Regions from separate parts of the Homo sapiens genome. Here region 2 is linked to region 1. Evidence: promoter capture Hi-C in human tissues and cell types (Jung and others, 2019). All regions are on one chromosome and are shown on one strand. Each heading gives the region's core, a stretch centred on a gene start or on the middle of the fragment in contact. The rest is flanking DNA. Distances are from core to core; before and after follow the strand shown. Region 1 holds the start of ADRA1A (adrenoceptor alpha 1A). Region 2 overlaps ADRA1A (adrenoceptor alpha 1A).

Region 1 (6,247 bases), core at 1,105-3,604:
GGGTGCAGTTGGAGCTGTCGGAAGCATTTCCCGAGAGAAACACCATGGTCCCAGCCGGGGCCGGGCGAGGTCCGGCTGTCCAGGGCCACCTCCCGGGCTGGCGCGGAGGCGGGAGCGCGGGAGCCGGGAATCAAAAGGTCTCGGCTGGAGGGAGCCCTGCCAGGTGGGTTTGGCTGGGGGTGAGAGCGCGCGCGCGGGTGGGAAACAACCCTGGCCAGCCCTGGGAACCCTCAGAAGGCCACATGAAGGGGCAGGGCATTAAAGACATGGCCAGGGGCGCGCGGGGCTGCCGGGGACCCTCTCCACCTGCCGGGCTGGCCTAGCCCGGGACCCGGACTCCCTCCCTACCCGAAGCTGGGTGCGAAGATCCAGGAGACTCCTTGCAACATGCAATTCCAGAATTACGAGAATCTGCTTTTCCGCGCTGTCTTATTCGTCCTGGCTGGGGGAAGATTCAGCATTCTGCACATGATTCGGAATTCAAAACTCCAGCGCCAGTCTCTCCCTCAAACCAAAAGATCAGCCGTCGACGCTCAAAGGCAGGGACCGATGGTTGGGTAGCGCAGCGCTACAGGTTGGGCGCTGCTCCTGGCCCGCAGTTACCTACATTTTGAGCTGCCCCACCGAAGGCTCCTGCTCTCTCCAGCTTCTAGGAGCACAGGTCAGGGGACGTAGGTGTGGAATATGTGCTGAGACCCAGGAGGCTGCGGGGCATCGTTTGACCGCGTCCACCTGAAAGAGCGCAAAGAGAAAGGCGGCTTTGAGCTAGGCGCCCCAGGGAAAGAGGCTGTGCTGAGCTTGACGGGTTGGGGGACACCAGTTGGGAGCCGGGTTGGTTCTGCGGTCCAGAAGCTGCTTCGCCCGGCAGCGGTGGAGGCGACTTCGGAGCTCATCTCGCGCCCCCACCACTGGGAACCTGCCTAGCGCACTCTACTGAGTCACCTCTGCCCGAGTTCAGGATCCGAAGCGAAAAACAAACAAAAAAACAAATCCCCAAAACCCCAGGCTCCAGCGCTCGAAGTCTGGATTTCGAGCGCAGGTACCACGAAATTAAAATCCTCGAAGCCCCGGAGGGGCGACTGCGGCTGGCGAGTGTGTCGCACGGATCCTAGCCGGGGAATTCTGGAGGATGTACTCGGTTTCCGTTAGAACAGGTTGCCTCGCAGTCACCTGGAGGGGGCGGCCTGGGAGAGGGAACAGCTGCGACCCAGGGACCTCAGGGCCAGGACCACGAGCACGCTCACTCTCACGCCGGTGGAATTCGCACTCGGGTGTGCAGAGCGCACCGGTCTGTCCACCAGCCAAGCTGGCTTGAGAGCCAGGTCCCGAGCGAAGCCGGGAGGGACCCGAAGACAGAAAGCGACCCAGGTCTGTCCACGACGCCTTTCCAAGCCTCACTGTTGGCCACCCGAGGGGCTCCAGCTGCCAGCCGTAGCGGGACTGGCGGGGGACGGGGTGGGGAGGACGTCCCTCTGCAGAGGGAGCTTTGCAAGTGACAGTCACTGCGGATTTTGCAGGCGTAAACATTAAGCCGGCATGCCAGCGGGCAGGGGCCGCCTTCGATTTTCTGGGCTGGGGGCCACCATCTGCGTAAGAAACCTGGGTTTCCACAACTGCGAACCTACCGCAGGGACTCGGCAGGACAGCGCGGCGTGAGGAAGTGCCCACCTTGCCTTCTGGGGTTGGGCCCTGAGGTGGGACCTCGGGCAAAGACTCTTGTTAAAATCGCAAGTTGGAGACCTCACAGGTGGTATTAAAAACGTGCCACTGCAGAAACCCTTTTCCTCCTACCTCGAGGGTGATAAACACAGGGTTAAAAAGACACTTGTTCAGTAGAAGGCAACTTCGCAGAAGATGTAAGGGAATCGGGGGTGGGGTAGAGGGGCCGGTATAAAACCTGGTGGAAAAAGCGGGAGGCGCTGGGAAAAGTGGGGGTTCCGTCTCACCAGACGGCGGGGGAGGTCTGCCCTCACCCACTCGGCCCTGCGGGACGCCGGCCCCGGCGCACTCACCTGAAGCGCCGCTGCTGAGCCACCAGCTCGCGCGCGGGGGATGTGGACCCGGCTTCGGTCCCGGGAGCTGCCTGCCTGCTCTTCTCTGGAGGCGGAGAGGGGACCGTGTCTCCGAGGCACCAAATCCTTGTCCTTTTGCACCCGCTGACTCACCCCTCCACCACTGATGTCTTTAAGCTCCTGAACCGCTGTCACTTTACCTGCATTTTTTAAAAAGAGTCAAAATAAGAAAAGAAAAAAAAATGCAGATAACCGGTAACTCCACAATCACCCTTTTAATATTCAGCTCCCCGACACCAGAAAAGAATAGCAAGGAACTTTGCAGCTCTCGCTGACGTAACTCAGGCAGTAGCCCAGCTAGTACCGTAATCTCCTGCTGCTACCGTATTACTCTACGGCAACAGGCACAAGTGCGTATACAGCTGTAATGTTTTCCTCTGGCCTAGAGGGGGTTGGGTTCTAGCGTTTCTTTAAAAAGGTTTGTGTGTGTGTGTGTGTGTGTGTGCGCGCGCGCGCGCGCGTGTGTGTGTGTAGAGTCATTTGTAGTAAATAACTTCTTTAAATGAGCTTTTAAAAATAACGAAAAATTGACACCCTTGCTAGATATTGCTGTGTGTATGGTGTGTTCATAGGAATGTGCTATAAAGTAACTTTGAACAGCTTGATTTGATTAACATTTGGCCTAGGTTTTGTTAAGATCAAGAAGTATATTAAGAATATTGTAATTCTAAATATGCAAGTAAATTATAAGGTGTTTTAAATAGCAAGTAAAATCAGATAAAATATGACAAATCTGATTGTAATGAAATTATATTTTCAGGAAGATAAAGTGGACATATCTAAACCTTATTTAATATGATTCACTTCTAATTTCTTTAGACAGATGAATTTTAAGAGCATTATGGCCACAGAGTTTGGTATTTTTTAAATGCCACACAATCTTTTCCAGTTTTCTTGAGAAAATGGTATCCTTTCAGGAGTGTTACTCTCTTTAATTCATTAATAGCTGGAGTATGAAAACCTAGCACCACCAGTCTTATTACTTTTTTTCTGGTAAATTACATAATCTGTTTACCTTGTGATTGAATAAAGTCACATGTGTTTCAGAATATCGGGAACATAGAAAAATGTTTCCCACTCCAATTCCCACCTCCTAAGTCATCTTTCATCTTTATTGATGCAGACAAAGTGGAATGTTCTTATTTACTAGGTCTCCTTAAACCTAGGAACAAGGAGATAACTTTAAGCAGTGGCACTTAAATTCTCTCCTGTGAACAAAATCATATTAATATGATTACCTTTTCTAAGTGAGATAATGTTTGGGAGGCTCTTTTATAGCAATAAATCTCAAAATGCCTCAGAGGAATGCCCATGAGAGGGTCAGTAAATCCTATGTCATGGAAGACCTAATATATGTATTTATTTCTCTATTGTATACAAAGTCCTCCACCTCTGCCTCATACCTGTAGGGATAGAACTCACACCTAACACATTTGATTTGAATTTAATATATTTTTAAAACTGAATTTCGTGCCATAGGAGGAGCATCCTGGTTGAACAGACAGCTCCACTTCTCATTACTAAGTCACCTGCTCTCTCTGGGATTCAGTCCCCTTAGGAGGAAGCTTGACCTCAATTCCCTGCACTTCTAGTACTTTATCATCAAATATGTGTATAATGTCTGTGCTTCCGAAATCCCATCCATCAGAGGGATATACACTGTTTTGTTTTGTATTCATTAACCTGATGCTGTGAATGCAAATTCTTCATTAAGATGTGTTCCATGGTAGATAAGGGAAGCAGTGCTATCAGCAAGCAAAGCAACTGAAAATTGCTCAGCTCTGCAAGGTCGAAAATTGCAAAAGTCTTTGTAACTCCCAGTCCCCACTCTACAACAATTAAGAATACACATAATCCACCCCTGCACCCACCTCCAATAATTAACTAGTTAATACTAAGATAAGGAAGAGCAGCTCTTCATGCTGCTAGCAGGTAGGTCTTTCAAATCTGCTTCTCAGCCTGTGACCATCAATCCTTGCAAAACGACCTCTCAGAACCAATTTTTCAGTCACCTACCATTGATTCACAAACAGAAAACTATCCATCTGTTGGTTACTCTTTAAAGAATAGTTGACGTGGACATCCCAGAAAGTGTCTGAGTTGTACACATGGGTAGGTGGAGTGGAGAGGAGTATGCTCTGGGGTCATAAAGATGCTATTCTGACCCTCCTATGCGACCATGGCAAAGCCTTGGTTTCCTAATTTTTAAAGGGAGACAATGAACCCCCACAAGGTTGTTATTAGTGTTGAAAGAAATTACGTTTCTCAAAAACTCAGCTCATAATATTCACTAACTCTATTATTAATCTTATTAACTCCCTTTCTGCTCATTTTGTATGCTACTTTATAGTGAAATATATTTCTAACCCAGGTAGTCCATGAACACTGGTAAATTCAGCTGGAGAATGTGCTAAGTGTCTTGAGCACTACACTTGAGCTAAGTGGTTTAATCAGAATGACCCAACATGGTTAAGTTGCAAGAGCTGGCCCTGATCACTGGCTGCTTCTTTTCTTCTCACTTTCCCCCTTGTTCTTTGTCTTGAGGGGCCATGCAAATGTGTGTGAACACCTCAGCCCCTACAGCCAGAAAGCTGCCTTCTTGGCCTCAGGCCTTGGGGTACACACATTTGTGATGTTGTCTGCCCAGAGAGAATGGACCTGAAAGTGATTGTGTGGCCATCTGGGGCAAGGGATTCTGAGTCCCAGGGCATGGTCTAGAAAGGAGGGCACAGGCTCCAGGTGGGCATATCACATTAGTCCTATGGCCAAAAGGAGTCAGAGCTGGACTCTCTAAAGCCTGAAACCCTAGCCGGGGTCCCTCTTGCCTGGCTCTGAGGGTGATACTCTGAAGACTTCCGGTGTGACAGAAATTGAAGAATCCCCTGAAGGGGTGGTTGTGGAAAGACTCATAAAATGATATTGCTTGATGTAGGATTTGTGGAATCAGCAGGATTGAGATTTGTAGACAAAAGTGAGGAAGGTGAACCATCAGCAGCCGCATTTTAGAGTGGTGTGTCAGGGATGCTGGGGGAATGAGTCTGATTGGAGAAGAGCTGAGCAATGGACATAAACCCATGCATTGATTGGCAGGACTTTCTTAGTGACTAGTGAGGAACTCGGCAAGTGTGGTAGGCTTAGAGGTTTAAAAAAATAAAGAATCTGTCTATCATTCCCTTAGAAAACAATACACAATGGAATTAGGAGCTGTGTTCTGGAATTTATGATTGCAAATGACAGAGTAGAAGACTTAATGTTAGTATCTACCCCAAAGACTTGGCTTTTCAACTAATTCTCCTAAGGCTTAATAAGTTAAAGAGGCAAGAAAATGAAAAACAATTCTCAGAAAGGTATTGATGCAGTATCAAGTCACAGCTCTCCAAAGAAGCATTGTGTTCTAATCCTTTATCGAACTGAGAACACTGCACAGCCCACAGATACTGCTGAGGGATGTCTTTGATGAGATAGTAATTCTGTCTTTGCCATCATTTTTCCAAATCTTCATTGCCCTGAGAAAATAACATACTCCAAGTCTTGGGAGTCATACCACCCCATCCCTACACTGTGGGACTATCATGGTAGGAATATGAGGTCAAGTCAGCCTATAGCTGATCAGCAAATAATTCCTTTAAAACAATAAGACTTTGCTCTCGCATAGCAAATCTAAGCTGAGGCATATTAATCAAATTTTTTCAATATCTTTGTCAATATCATCTGGAAATGGAAGTAAAAGAAAGTCAATATGTGTACCAAGTGCAGACACATTTTTATCTCATCTCTTCACTTGCTGATGGGCTGTTATAGGCACTTTAAAATGCTTATTGACTTGTATTTAATTATAAAATTTATGCTCATAATAGCACATTTGGAAAAGTCAGACAGAAATGTATGAAAATAAAAATTATCTGTAATCCTGCCACTGGAGAAATAGCTATTGTTAAATATTTGTCATATTTTCTCATTTTTTGTTAATGTGTATAAATTATATACATGGAAAAATATATATACACATGTACATACCAGGAAATATTTTATGTACATGTATTTATTATGCATACATATATATTTCACATATTATACATTGTATACATTATATAAAAGAGTGTAATCATACTGTACCTATAATTATATATCTTACTTTTTCACTTATATTATATCATGAACTCATTCTATTATTA
Region 2 (6,247 bases), core at 998-3,497, 61 kb before region 1:
GATACTACCACATACCTACTACAATCACTCTGCAAAAGAATATTTTGGAAGTTTCCTTTTTTTTTTTTTTTTTTTTTTGAGATGATTTCACTCTGTTGCTTAGGCTGGAGTGCAGTGGCAAGATCATAGCTCACTGCAACCTTGAATTCCTGGGCTCAAGAGATCCTTCCACCACAGCATCCCAAGTAGCTGAGGCCGCAGGTGTGTGCCACCACACTTGGTTAATTTTTAAATTTTTTTTAGAGTCGGGGTCTTGCTATGTTGTCCAGGCTGGTCTCAAACTCAAGGGTCAAGTGATCCTCCTGCCTTGGCCCCCCAAAGTGGTGGGGTTATGGGAATAAGCCATGAATTTCTTGAGAAGTTAAATGTGTATCTGTCTTAGGACCCATTACTCTCCTTAATGCTTACCCAGGAGACATGAAAACACATCCACATGCAGGCTTGTCTATGAGTGTTCAAAGAGGCTTTATTTGGAATAGCCCCAAAGTGGAAACAGTCCAAATTTCATCGATATGTGAAAGTATAAAAAATTATACCTATTACTCTAGAATAAAAAAGAATAGACTATTGATACATGTGACATGCATCTCAAAATCATTATCATGAATGAAAGAAAAGAGGCCAAGAAGATTCATACTGCATGATTTTCTTCATTGTAGGAGTCTAGAAATTGCAAGATAATCTACAGTGATGGTAAACAGATCAGTATTTGCCTGGGGACAGAATCCGTAACTCCATGGATTCCATGGGTGTCAGAGTTGTGCTCTGACTTATCTGACATATATCACTATTTGATGGACAAATGATCATATAAAGTGAAAAATCAACCTCTAAACTAAGAGTTTGGGATCTAACTCCAGAATAACACCAGTAACCTCTGTGTGTCTCATTGGAAGAACATATGATGCTTCGAGGATGGTTATGTCAGAGAGCAAATGAGATGGTGTGTGAAAAATAATAGTAATTATAAGATCTGATATAAATTTAATTTATTCTTATTGTTTGTTATTAATAGCTAGAGATAAGCCTGAAATTATAATTTCATAGCTCATCAGTGAGGGCAATGAAGGATTTGCATCAAAATAAGCTTCGGAGTCAGTCTCTCTCTCTCACATGCATACACACATACACACATGCTCGTATGCATGCACACACACAAACATACACCACTCAGGTTTCATAGACATTATTTCTGGAGATAAAGAGTATGGCTCTGAATTTTGTTTCTAATGCTGTTGGTTGTTTGCATGCTAATTCTAGACTAGGAATCAAATCCTAAAACGTCAGTTATATTGTGTCCCACTGTGACGACCAAGAATGGGGCTCTCACCTCTGCCTACCTGGCTCTTCACGTGAAGTCGCCTTCCTCATTTGTCCACTCTCAATTTACACCTATTGCCTCAGTATGGTTATTAATTGTGCTTTCTTACATTTTGAGTGTTATGAGCTAGACAGTAAGTTAACATTGAATTAATATTTCTGGTTTGGATCTACAAGGTGGGAATTATTCCCACTTTAAAGATGAAGCAAATCACTTGTCTACTACGCTACAACATTGTCTTAGAGAAGGGAGACCAAGACTCTGGGTAATACAAGACTGAATACTTACTGCGTGTCCACTCTATGCCCAGTACTTTCGAAACGCTTTCCATATATTAGCTCATTTAATTTTCCAAAAATGCTAGGAGGATACCAAGACATTAGTGTTATTACAGATTACGAAACAGGCATGAGAGGCTAAGTAACTTGCCCAAGGCCATGGAACAAGTGAGAGATGGAACTGGATTTGAACTCTGGTACCCCAGCTCCAGAGCTGGTGGGTAATAATTACTTGCTATGAAAAGTATTACAAGGCTTTCTTTTTTGTGTTGCTTCTACCTGGTACAAGAATCTTGATGAGCCAAGAGTTACTGGAACTTCAGTAAGCTCATTACTTGAACACATTTATTTTTAACCATTTTCCCCCCCACATAGATTTGGCATTATTAACAGAGCCAAAGCCAAGTGACGTTGGCCCTTGATAAAGACACAGCTTATCAGAGCCTGTGCCCCCTTCCCCCTAGGCATCTTCTATCACTGTTGCAGGTGCAGGCCCCCTCCACACCCACTCTGGAAAGCTGAGGGTTGTGGCTGGTTCTCCTTTTCTAGGACATTCCCTGAGGCCACTTGTGGCAGCCGCCAATGTGCTTGCTCTTCCTATTTTATCCTTCCAGGCATGTGGCAGCTTTACCTAATGACCGAACTCCCGAATGTTCCCATTCTGTCCTGCCTCTCTTTTCCCCTTACTCCAAGAATGACCCATTATGGGTTATTAGCACTGCCCTGTTTTTAACTGGGTTGCAATTCATGCAGCCTCCTAACTGCAAAATCACTTCCCTACAGCCTTCCTTCAGACAAGGTGGAACTGGCCCCAGAAGCTGGGTGTTTACACCAAAGATTTTTTTTTTTTTTTCGAAAGCTGCCTTCTGTTTTGCTCTTCCCTTACTGTATAACAGATAGCAGGGTGCAAAAAGCCCTTTATCCTGTTAATAGTGGCCTTAGGTAAGGAAAAAAAAAGAGCATGATTCAAGTTTTCTGTGGCCTCTGGCTCAGTTGAAATGGAATGTAAGTGCAATGCCAGAGCCTGGTAAAAATAGAAACTCCAGTGTCCAGACTCCTCTCCAGATGGTGTGGGAATCCAGATAGCAACTCATCACTAAGGAGGGCCACCATTAATTAGTGGGAAGATGTCATGCCTCACACTGGGGAGTAAATGAAATGGCCTATAGCTTAGAATGGAACCTCTCTAATCGCCAGAGAGTCCGAGGTTTCTCCCTAAGTCTCTTTACTCTGGCTTAACCGAGAGTTCGGTCATTACATAAAGCTGCCACATGCCTGGAAGGAGGAAATAGGAAGAGCACGTGCAGTGGCTGCTGCTAGAAGTGGCCTCATGGAACATCCTAGAAAAGGAGAACCAGCCACACCCTCAGCTTCCCAGAGTGGGTGGGGAGGGGGCTGGCATCTGTGATAATGAGAGAAGATGCCTAGAGGGAGCTGGACCCAAACTCTGATAAGCTGGGTCTTTACCAAGGGCCAAAGTGGCTTGGCTTTGGCTCTGTTAATAATGTCAAACTTATGTCGGGGGTAAAGTGCTATAAAAATAAACATGTTCACTGAACGAGCTTACTAAAATTCCAGTAACTCTTGGCTTATCAAGTTTCTTGTATCAAGTAGAAACGACACAAAAAGAAGCCTTGTAATACTTTTCACAGCAAGTAACTATTACCCTTCATAAGAATCACAAATCTAACCCCTTTCCATTAAGCATAGCCTCCTAAAAGGAATTAGCTTTGGGCCCTGGGCAAGCCACTGAGCTCTGCTAGTCTCCCCTTCTTTATCAATGTCATGAGGGTGATCATACTGATTTTCAGATTTTCACAGGGCTGCTTCTTTTGATAATTAAATAATAAGAAGGTACAAGAATCAAGAAGGGTGACAAGCACATGGGTGGCTAAAAATATTAACTGAAGAAATCAAAGCAATACAAATGTTTGGCACCACTAAGTTAGAAAGAGTGTATGAGAACTGGAGGGAACCCCTCTGCTGGTCAATTTTTATTATTTGGAGTAAATGTCATCTCTCAGAGAAGCTGTTCTCAAAGATCATGTTGCATTGTTAATTTTGGTATCTGTCTCTCTTAATAGACAGTGAACCTTCAAAGTGGGGAGGACCATAGCATGTTCAGGTCTCATTATAGCATGTAGTGCATAAAGGTGCTTGGATGTTTATTGAATAAAAGAATGAGTGAAGATTTGGAATAATGGAAAACATTGGGAAGGGTGTTTCTTTTGGTGGGAATGTAGCATGATGCAAACTAGGAAGTTACTTAGAATGTCCAGGAAAAGACAGGAGAGGGCAGCGTGGGTGGAAAACAGGAATTGAGGAGTACTGAGCAAGAGACACACCAAAGAGGCCAGGACCCATCCACCTTATCTCCTCACCTATAAATTCTGCTCCCCTCCTCCTTTGCAAGGTCCAAGCCTCACAATGTGGCTCCCTCTCTACACCATCACCTCCTGCTCCTCTTTGGAAAAGGAACCACAGTTCCCAAGCTCTTTATACTAGACACAGGGCAATGCATTCTGCACTTATTTTTTCTAAGTTCATACTTTGAATAAGTAATACATTTACGTGGCTCAAAAATGAGAACACTGTAACAAATTATACCCTAAGGTGTTATACCCTTGACTTTATTTCCCCTATCCCCCTTCAATCCCTAGACATAATCCTTTTAATTAGTTTCTTTTTTATTCTTCCAGTGTTTTATGCAAATATAAGAAGTATGTCTATATATTATTTACTTATGTTTCCTACACAAAAGATTGCATACTACATATACTTCTACATATTGCTTTTTCCACTTAATACAACCTGGTCCTCTTTTCCCTATCAATGTGTAAAGATCTTCATCCTTTTTTATAGCTGTGTAGTATTCCATTGTATGTATTTAGCATAGTTTATTCAACTAATCTTCTAGTGCTGGATTTTTTTCATTATATACACTGTGGAAATGAATAACTAAAATTTTGAACAGTTTTTTTAACTTAGCCTTTTACCTGATTGTTGATGCCTTTTCTTCTTTGGTGATCTTGGCAATTCTTAGGACTCTATAGATCACTTCTATGCTGATGACAAAGCCCCATTGCGGTGTGCATCCCCTTTCCTGCTTCTAGCTGCCTTCCTGATCTATTACAATCAACAGCAACTCTAAACTTGACCTCATTTTCTCCTCCTTTGCTTAGGAGGTTTTCCTAGTGAAAAGTATACACTGAGATGTCACATTCTCTCTCCTACTCACTAAGATAAGAAACTTCAGTTGCCTGTGATTTCTTCTCTGCCTTGAACTCTACATCCATTGGGTGTAACAAACACATTGTTTTCTTGCATAACATTTTGGACATATGTCCTTTCTTTTTATTCTTATTGTCATAAATAACTGATTTTTCCACTTTTCTCTTACATGTCTTCTGCAATAATCTAGACAGCTTTGGTAGGAAACATCTCACAACTTGGGTGGGATCATTTTTCTGCCATTAGAGGTATCCCAATGCCTAATGAAGAAAGTGTACATTGCTGTTTGTAATGAGAAACTTGCTTTCTCTTTATTGATGAGTGAGCTCTTTAGGAGTAGACACCTGCCTTATTTACTACAATACCCTTACCACCTGCCATGATGCTGGGCATAAGGTATGTGTTCAGTAAAAAATTGTTGAATTTATCTCTGCAATACAATTTCAACGGGCATTTCCAATCTTATCTCCCATTATTCCCCTAAACAAACTTTACTGCCAAAGCTAATTTGAACTATTGTCCAGATATACTATTTAACTTTCATGACTTGGATTATGCCATTCTCTCTGCCTAGAATATTCTTCCTCTGTCTCTATGTGTTACTCTGTTCAGGTACTGAAAAGCCAACAGTTTCCAAGGCCCAGCACCTCTGAGAAGTTCTATCTGATTACCCTGAAACCACCGAGGCCCAAAAGAAAGCAACTTCCTCAGTAGAGGAAATGGAACCAGAACCCTGATTTCTCAGCTCTCATGAGCCTAGAAAGAGTAGAGACTCTAAGATCCAGAACTGCACATTCTATTTCCCAGTGAGCCATGACATCCTGCCTTGGAGGCCAGAATGATACTTGTCTTACAACTTTATTGGATAATAGGGAGGATCCCATGGAATGATGGAATTAGTAATCATTTATAAAAGCACAAAATCTTATAAACTGTAGTGAAGTATGTAGTGCATTTCTATTCAATTAAATAAACATGTATTAAACTCCTACCTCTACTATACACTGAGCAATGTGCTACAAATGGAATGGTTTCTTCCCACAAAGCGCTGAGTAAGAGAAAGCTGTGGCCTTATTGAATCTATTGATTTAGCCTCAATAAATGCAGAAGGATGTCATCTACTCACACGAAGATAAAAGGGTTACAATCATGGACATGGCTTACCTCTCTAAATAGCTCGCTATATAATTTTGGCAAAGTTCCTTGAACAATTTGGTCCTTAGACTTCCTAGATTGTTCATGGAACTTTCTTCTTAGATTATTATACCCTGTTCTGTGTCTCAGTTTGCAATTTTTATCCCAGCAGAGGAACTCTAGTTCTAAGAGGGAGATCTGCCCTTGAAAACCGGCTGCCCTTATTACTTCCTGCCTTTCTTTTAACTGAGCTCCACTGGCTCAGACACATAATTTTTGTTAA

The links. Contacts are between HindIII fragments. The study calls those that stand out against the background at their distance.
Region 2: a fragment that was not itself captured here is called in contact with the fragment with the promoter of ADRA1A in region 1 in 2 of the 25 tissues and cell types used here (dorsolateral prefrontal cortex and mesenchymal stem cells).

Annotation. Positions count from the first base shown.
Region 1 is chr8:26,864,924-26,871,170 of GRCh38, forward strand. It overlaps ADRA1A (adrenoceptor alpha 1A), which reads right to left and starts at 2,355. Exons shown (of 3, transcript NM_000680.4): 1 at 2,013-2,355; 2 at 1-732. The coding sequence starts at 46. RefSeq lists an enhancer at 625-1,576. The HindIII fragment of the contact is 8,811 bases long and covers 1-6,247 here.
Region 2 is chr8:26,803,864-26,810,110 of GRCh38, forward strand. All of the region lies in intron 2 of ADRA1A (adrenoceptor alpha 1A), which reads right to left. Among named protein-coding and RNA genes, the nearest start is that of ADRA1A, 60 kb to the right of the region's middle. The HindIII fragment of the contact is 6,498 bases long and covers 1-5,496 here.